Regions from separate parts of the Homo sapiens genome. Here region 1 is linked to region 2. Evidence: promoter capture Hi-C in human tissues and cell types (Jung and others, 2019). All regions are on one chromosome and are shown on one strand. Each heading gives the region's core, a stretch centred on a gene start or on the middle of the fragment in contact. The rest is flanking DNA. Distances are from core to core; before and after follow the strand shown. Region 1 has its middle 35 kb from the start of COL9A1. Region 2 holds the start of B3GAT2 (beta-1,3-glucuronyltransferase 2).

What was found. The method cuts DNA at HindIII sites, captures the fragments that hold promoters and counts their contacts. A contact is called where the count stands out against the background at its distance.
Region 1: a fragment that was not itself captured here is called in contact with the fragment with the promoter of B3GAT2 in region 2 in 2 of the 25 tissues and cell types used here (bladder and lymphoblastoid cells).

The regions. Positions count from the first base shown.
Region 1 is chr6:70,335,968-70,340,402 of GRCh38, reverse strand. No RefSeq gene overlaps it. Among named protein-coding and RNA genes, the nearest start is that of COL9A1, 35 kb to the right of the region's middle. The HindIII fragment of the contact is 6,663 bases long and covers 1-4,435 here.
Region 2 is chr6:70,955,687-70,959,882 of GRCh38, reverse strand. B3GAT2 (beta-1,3-glucuronyltransferase 2) reads left to right here and starts at 2,823. Exons shown (of 4, transcript NM_080742.3): 1 at 2,823-4,044. The coding sequence starts at 3,454. LOC124901229 reads right to left here and starts at 3,455. Exons shown (of 2, transcript XM_047419611.1): 1 at 3,355-3,455; 2 at 966-3,251. The coding sequence starts at 3,455. The coding sequence ends at 2,525. RefSeq lists an enhancer at 3,048-3,563 and silencers at 3,492-3,621, 4,092-4,196. The HindIII fragment of the contact is 7,853 bases long and covers 1-4,196 here.

The DNA.
Region 1 (4,435 bases), core at 1,063-3,562, 620 kb after region 2:
TTTTTGTTTGTTTGTTTGTTTGTTTGTTTGAGACAGAGTCTTGCTCTGTCACCCAGGCTGGAGTGCAATGACAGGATCTTGCCTCACTGCAACCTCCGCCTTCCAGGTTAAAGTGATTCTCCTGCCTCAGCCTCCTTAGTAGCTAGGACTACAGGTGTGAGCCACCATGCCAGGCTAATTTTTGTATTTTTAGTAGAGATGGGGTTTCACTATGTTGGTCAGGTTGGTCTTGAACTCCTGACCTCATGATCCGCCTGCCTCGGCCTCCCAAAGTACTGAGATTACAGGCATGAGCCACCACACCCAGCCTAGCCAAGGCAATTCTAAGCAAAAAGAACAAGGCTGGAGGCATCCCATTACCCAACTTCAAACTATACTACAAGGTTACAATAACTAAAACAGCATGGTACTGGTGCAAAAACAGTTACATAGACCAATGGAGCAGAATAGAGAGTCCAGAAATGATTCTGCATACCTACAACCACCTGATCTTTAACCAAGCTGACAAAAACAAGCAATGGGGAAAGGACTTCCCATCAATATATGATGCTGGGATAACTCAGTAGCCATATGCTGAAGACTGAAACTGGATCCCTTCCTTAAACCATATACAAAAATCAACTCAAGATGGATTAAAGACTTAAATGTAAAACCTAAAACTATAAAAACCCTGAAAGATAATCTAAGATATACCATTCTGGACATAGGACCTGGCAAAGATTTCATGCTGAAAACACTAAAAGCAATTGTTGCAAAAACAAAAATTAACAAGCGGGACCTAATTAAACTAGAGAGCTTCTGCATAGCAAAAGAAACTATCAACAGAGTAAACAAACAACCTACAGAATGATAGAAAATATTTGCAAAGTATGCGTCCAACAAAAGTCTAATATCCAGAATCTATTTGGAATTTATACAAAGTTACAAGCGAAAAGCAAACAACCCCATTAGAAAGTAGGCAAAGGATATGAATAGAACCTTTTCAAAAGAAGACATACATGCAACAAACAGGCACATGAAAAAAACTCAACATCACTAATTATTAGAGAAATGGAAATCAAAACCACAATGATGTACTACCTCATACTAATCAGAGTGGCTATGATAAAAAAAAAAGTAGATGCTGATGAGGTTGCAAAGAAAAGGATACTCTTATACGCTATTGTTGGGAGTGTAAATTAGTTCAGCCATTGTAGAAAGCAGTGTGGTGATTCCTCAAAGAACTTGAAACAGAATTACCATTTGGCCCAGCAATCCCATTATTGGGTGAGTACCCAAGGGGATAAAAATCCTTCTACCATAAGGACAAATGCATGCATATGTTCATCTTAGCACTATTTGCAATAGCAAAGACATGGAATCAACCTAAATGCCCATCAACTGTAGACTGGATTAAAAGAATGTGGTATATATACACCATGGAATACTACACAGCCATAAAAAAGGAGATCATGCCCTTTGCAGCAATATGGATGGAGCTGGAGGCCATTATCCTTAGCAACTAATGCAGGAAAAGAAAATTAAATACTGCACATTCTCATTTGTAAGTGGAAGCTAAACAATGAAAATACATGGACACAAAGAGGGGAACAACATACATCAGAGCCTACTTGAGGGTGAAGGGTGGGAGGAGGGAGAGGATCAGAAAAAAATACCTATTGAATATTATACTTACTATCTGCATGATAAAATAATCTGTACACCAAACCCCTGTGACATGCAGTTTGCCTATATAACAAACCTGAACACCTAGATACCCTTGAACCTAAAATAAAAGTAAAAAAAATTAAAAAAGGAAATATAACCTTGTCTTTTCTAAATGGCGTATGTTGTTCTATAATAATGTTGTTTCCAGAATAAAATAATCAATGAAGAATTTTCCTAGCTTGAATATCTTTCTATTTCCATGTACACATGGTCCTTGGCTTACAATGGTTTGACTTAGAATTTTTTTTGACTTTATGATCGTACAAAAACAATATGCATTCAGCAGAAACTGTACTTTATATATCATATAACCATTCTGTTTTTTCACTTTCAGTACAGTACTCAATAAATTACATGAGATATTCAACACTTCATCATAAAATAGGCTTTGTTTTAGATGATTTTGCCCCACGTTAGGCTAATGTAAGTGTTCAGAGCGCATTTACAGTAGGCCAGGCTAAGCTATGATGTTCTGTAGCTTAAATATATTAAATGTATTTTCAATTTAACATATTTTCAACTTATGATGGGTTTATTGGAATGGAACTGTATCACGAGTCAGGGAGCATCTGTGTATCTAAGTTGGATTCTTTGCTGTTGATTTCTTGATTTTAAAATAATTAAATAAAAGGAGAAAATGCAGCTCATTACCTAAATGCTGAAAATGCTGACATTCTGGGTATCTGTTGGATTACTTCTAATTTATGAAGATTTTCTGAATGATAATTTTAGAATTGATTGGATGTATTTCAGATGGAGAACTGTTTCTATGGCAACATATTGGGTTTACAGACTGAAAGACTATTCCAAACAGCATTAACTAAAATTGCACATAAACAGAATGAAACACATTAAAAAACAAAGAGAAATGCTAGAGCAGGCTGAACCCAAACCCAGTTGCCTGTAATGATTTTCGTCACCTATAGATCGTCCTACATATTCCTGGAAGCGATCAGTTTCATAGTCAATATGTGCTCTCTGAGGGGAGAGGCCCCCTTATCAGGGCAGTAACAGAGTCCCAGTACCAGTTAGATAAGGCAGTTGTTACTGGTAGATTATCTATGGGAGCAACCTGCCAGAGGATATGAGCTAGACACATGAGTCAGAGGCGAATCTAAGATCTGGGGCTACGAGCAAGTAGTTCAGCCACCAGAGCAAAAATGAGAGTGAGGAATGGGCTCAATACAGAGAAACTGCTGAGGAGCAAAAAAAAAAAAGAAAAAAGATAAAGGGGAAATTTGGGATTGGAATGGAAAACATGGAGTTTTGAGGTTAGTGCTGTGCTAAGCTTCAGTTGGAAATCTTTAAAGAAAGAATCATGAACCACATATCTTTGTGTGGAGTTTCACTGGTTGGTTAGTGTTGGGAGACAATTCTCCATGGGTCCTTTAAGTTTCTGCACAACTTATGCTCAGAGATACTGACTGGTTTTTTTCCAGATTATTTTTTCAAGGACGTCTGTATAGTGAACAGCCTAAGAAGGTAGCAACAGTGTCTTTATCTCGAGCAAAGTAAAATTTGTTTACTCTCCACTGTAATAAAAGTGCCTACTTCCAGAGCAAGGCCCAACAGGCTTACTCCCCATTATAAAAGATTTGGACTTGAGGTGGCTGGCAAGATGGCAGAATAAGAACAGCTCCGGTGTGCAGCTCCCAGCGAGATCGACACAGAAGGCAGGTGATTTCTGCACTTCCAACTGAGGTACCTGGCTCATCTCACTGGGACTGGTTAGACAGTGGTGCAGCCCATGGAGGGCGAGATGAAGCAGGGTCAGGTGTCGCCTCACCAGGGAAGCACAAGGGATTGGGGAACTCCTTCCCCTAGCCAAGGGAAGCCGTGAGGGACTGTGCTGTGAGGGATGGTGCATTCTGGCCCAGATACTACGCTTTTCTCGCAGTCTTCTCAACCCACAGACCAGGAGATTCCCTTGGGTGCCTACGCCACCAGGGCCCTGGGTTTCAAGCACAAAACTGGGCGGCCGTTTGGACAGACACCGAGCTAGCTGCATGAGTTTTTTTTTTCATACCCCAGTGGCACCTGGAATGCCAACAAGACAGAACCGTTCACTCCCCTGGAAAGGGGGATGAAGCCAGGGAGCCAAGTGGTCTAGCTCAGCAGATCCTACCCCCATGGAGCCCAGCAAGCTAAGATCCACTGGCTTGAAATTCTAGCTGCCAGCACAGCAGTCTGAAGTCAACCTGGGATGCTCAAGCTTGGTGGGGGGAGGGGCGTCGGCCATCACTGAGGCTTCAGTAGGTGGTTTTCCCCTCACAGAGTAAACAAAGCCATGGGAAGTTTGAGCTGGGCAGAGCCCACTGCAGCTCAGCAAAGCTGCTGTAGCCAGACTGCCTCTCTAGATTACTCCTCTCTGGGCAGGGCATCTCTGAGAGAAAGGCAGCAGCCCCAGTCAGGGGCTTATAGATGAAGCTCCCAAATTCCTGGGACACAGCACCTGGGAGAAGGGGCGGCTGTGGGTGCAGCTTCAGCAGACTTAAACGTTCCTGCCTGCTGGCTCTGACGAGAGCGGCAGATCTCCCAGCACAGTGCTCAAGCTCTACTAAGGGAAAGACTGCCTCCCCAAGTGGGTCCCTGAACCCCATGCCTTCTGACTGGGAGACACCTCCCAGCAGGGTTCGACAGGCGCCTCATACAGGAGAGCTCTGGCTGGCATCTGGCGGGTACCCTTCTGAGAGAAAGCTTCCAGAGAAAGAAACAAGCTGCAATCTTT
Region 2 (4,196 bases), core at 1,574-4,073:
TTTCATTTTATATTCATTTGATAACGATGATCCATCAAGATCTCTTGTGTTAAGGTGTTCTTTTGAGGAAGGGTTATCTGTATTGAAATATCATTTATTGACTGCCTGTGTAATAATGGCTCTTCTTCAAACTACCCAACATACACCATTTAATCCTTGCAAGATTCCCATGGAGTATGTATTATTAACCCCATTTTCCAGATGAGGAAACAGGCCTTGGGAGGTTCACTGATTTTCTAAAGTTGCACAGTAGAAAGTATCCCAGAGGGGACTCAAACCCAGGTCTGCCTGACTCCAAGAACCATGAAGCTCCCCAACAGATGACTGAATGAAATAAACCTGGGTACAAATGCTAAGGGTAATAGAAAAAAATGAAGTGACAGTCTGTGATGTGCTAATTAAGTGTTGTGTTTTATGACACCCATGAATTCTGGGCATGAGCTAAAGTCTCAAACTGCAAATTCAATTGATTTTGAAAGTGCTTTGGGCTAGGCACAATGGCTTACATCTGTAATCCCAGCACTTTGGGAGGCCAAGGCATAAGGACTGCTTGAGCCCAGGAGTTCAAGACCATCTTGGGTAATAGGAGACCCCAGTCTACAAAAACTAAAATGAAAAAATTAGCAGGGTGTAGCAGCTTATATCTGTAGTTCCTGCTACTCAAAAAGCTGAGGCAGGAGGATTGCTTGAGCCCAGGACATCGAGACTGAAGTGAGCTGTGTTCAAGTCACTGCACCCCAGCCTTGGCATTGAAGAGAGACCCTGTCTGTCTGTCTTTCTCTCTCTCTCTCTCTCTCACACACACAGACACACACACACACACACACACACACACACACACACAGTGTTTCATCTCTGAATAGCCCTGGTTCCTGGAGAGGATGTAATAGCAAATAGGTTTTATGGCATAGTTGGACCAACCAAAAGTTCCCCACTAACAAAGGTTAGTGATGTTTTTAGTACAATTCAGTAACAACATGAATTTTATTCCAGCAAACACAAGGCATTTTAACCAAATTTAAAATTTCCAACAGGATGAACCAGACTTCAGTAACTTAGGGGAGAGGGGTGCACTGCTTCCTAAGAAAAACCTTTTCTTAAAGGGAGGCCTTGACTTCTTTCCTCTTCCCCATCCTGGCATGATGCTGGTGCAGAATACATTTCCAAGGTTGTGTTATATTCAGAGGCACATTAGGCTATTCGAGAGAATGGGAAGAGGTCTAATGGCTTCGTTGTTTTCTATGTTTAGGATGCACTAATCTGCAGAGTTTAATGTATGAGTTGTGGATGGCACAGGGAAGTTGGGACAGAAGGCTAGCTCTAGGGAGTTGTTGGGGTGGCTGGGTGTTAGTCTGAAATTTCACTCTCACGTTTCAGAATCTGAAGAGGAAGTTAGGGAAATTCACAGATGAGCCAATGCCTTTTAACAGGTGGGGGGTTCAGGGGTAGGACTGGGAGAAGAGGAGCTGTCAGAAAAGCTGGAGAGCCATTCGCCCCAGAGCTCTCAGTTGCACCAGAACGCACAGTCGGAGAGAGATTTATTTGTGAACAAGCCCGAGAAAGGCAGACAACCCAGACAAGATGGGCTCAGAAATTATTTATCATAGGCTAGGGCAGAACAGTCTGGAGCTTTCCTTCTGCTTTGCAAGCACTTCCCTGGGACCTGCCTGGGAAGCACAGCCCTTCTTCCTGGTAAGTTACAGAAGGTCAGGCACTCAGCTAGTAGGCCAGCTAGACAGCAAAAAGTGTCTAAACTAAGTGCCAACTGTTTACTTGGGGTCTTCCAGACCCTATCATGGTTCTATTCGTCATGGTACACTCTGTTTGATTTCAATCGCACCATCTTTATATGTAGGAAGGCCAAACCGGCCCGGCTGTGTTGGGTGGGATTTCTGCAGGCCATGCAGTGAGGACGCCACTAGCTATAGACACACGCAGGAGACCCACGTTCTATTTCCATATGCCACTTGCCACTGACCTCAGAGAAATCATTTTAAACCCTGAACCTCAGCTTCCTTATCCTGAAAATGAAGGCCATTCTACTTCTTAGGCCTTCTTGACAGGAGCCTTGGGAGAGCCAAACGGAGTAATTCCGGTGACAGCGAAGAACTGGGAGGGACCGTGACTCCAAATTACTGAAGAAAAATAAGTTAAACATGCTCGGCTGGAGTTTTAGGAATTCCACCCGCCCCCACCCGCCATGATCAAACTGCAGTCAGGCAGCAGCCCTCCGAATTGATTCTTTCTTATGGACTGTCTCACATGCCAAACACCTATGTGCAGCACCCCTCCATCTCCGTGGGCTCCTATTGATGTCTGCCTTGCAGTGAAAGCGCTTTTTGTTGCCGCTGTTCGATACACCCCAGCACATCAACGCAGCAGCTGGGAGCAGGAGGAGGAATCCCTTCGCTTTCTCCCCTCCTTTCACTCCGAACCCTAGGCATCAGCAGCAACGCGCGTAGCCCGGCAAATTTCCGCACGTGAATGGATTTTCCTGGCTCATCTCCAAAGACCTTGCGGTATTTCACAAAGCTGAAGAGAGGTGAACGAGCATCACCCCCTCCAGGAGGTCGTGCAGCCCCGCGGGGACGCTCCTCCCGCTCCTCCACCCGCGGTGCAGCGGCCGCCTCCCGAGCTTGCTCGCGGGGCCGTTAGCGCCAGACCCGGCGGAGAGCCAAGGGGTCCCTCCGCGCCTCCCTCTCGCAGCCCCTCTCCACCAGTAGCAGCGCTGCTGTCTTCCCACAGGAGGACTTGGGAGGACGCTGGATTCTGCAGCGCCCCCGCCCCCTCGCTTTTTCTTTCTTTCCTTGCTTTGGGATCTTGCTGCTGGATCCGGAGAGGTTCTGAGAAGACAAGAGCAAGGGACTGAGAGCAGGCTTCCGCTGCGGCGCGCGAACACAGCCGGGACACAACCCCCAGCGTCTCCACCCGCTCCTCGCCACCCCGGCGGGAATGTGAGGAAGGAAAGCCCCCAGCGCCGCCGCCCGCCCTCGAAGGCGTCCCAGAGAGCGTCCTGGGGGCCCGCGGCTGGAGCCCTTGTGCCCGCAGCACCGCCGGACTGGAGCGGCGAGGCGCACCGGGTGCCGCTTCTCGGCTTCCACTCTTCAGAAAGAGCGCGGTGGGGATCAGCGCCTTTCCCGCACTCGGCACAACTCCGGGACCGGCGGCGCGCGGCTGGACCGAGTCCCGCTTCCCGCCAGCTCACCTGGAGTCGGGGGCAGCCCCTGCCCGCCCGCCTGCACCCCTTGTCGCTCTAGCTTGCGCGAACCTGCCGCTCCTCCACGCCCAGGTAGTGAGCCCCGCGGCTCCAGGTCTCTGCAGCGCCCTCGGCCCCATGGACAGCGCACCCATCACCACTCCCTAAGTGCTGGCGCCGCCGCTGTCCAAGCTGCGCACTGGGGTCCCTCGGCTCGCCCCTCTCTGGGGTGTCCGAGAGGCCAGGGAGCGTGCACCATGAAGTCCGCGCTTTTCACCCGCTTCTTTATCCTCCTGCCCTGGATCCTAATTGTCATCATCATGCTCGACGTGGACACGCGCAGGCCAGTGCCCCCGCTCACCCCGCGCCCCTACTTCTCTCCCTACGCGGTGGGCCGCGGGGGCGCCCGACTCCCGCTCCGCAGGGGCGGCCCGGCTCACGGGACCCAAAAGCGCAACCAGTCTCGGCCGCAGCCACAGCCGGAGCCGCAGCTGCCCACCATCTATGCCATCACGCCCACCTACAGCCGCCCGGTGCAGAAAGCGGAGCTGACCCGCCTGGCCAACACGTTCCGCCAGGTGGCGCAGCTGCACTGGATCCTGGTGGAGGACGCGGCGGCGCGCAGCGAGCTGGTGAGCCGCTTCCTGGCGCGGGCCGGGCTGCCCAGCACTCACCTGCACGTGCCCACGCCGCGGCGCTACAAGCGGCCCGGGCTGCCGCGCGCCACTGAGCAGCGCAACGCGGGCCTCGCCTGGCTGCGCCAGAGGCACCAGCACCAGCGCGCGCAGCCCGGCGTGCTCTTCTTCGCTGACGACGACAACACCTATAGTCTGGAGCTCTTCCAGGAGGTAAAGGCCAGCCTGCCCCGCTGGGTGGGCGAGGGCGGGAGTGGGCCTCCGGGCCGGCCGGGCTGCAGTCACACGCCCCTTGCACTCCGGGTGCACTTTTGAGTTCTCAGTTCTCCGTGCGCGCATTCGGGGCACCGAGTGGAGCCGCTCCT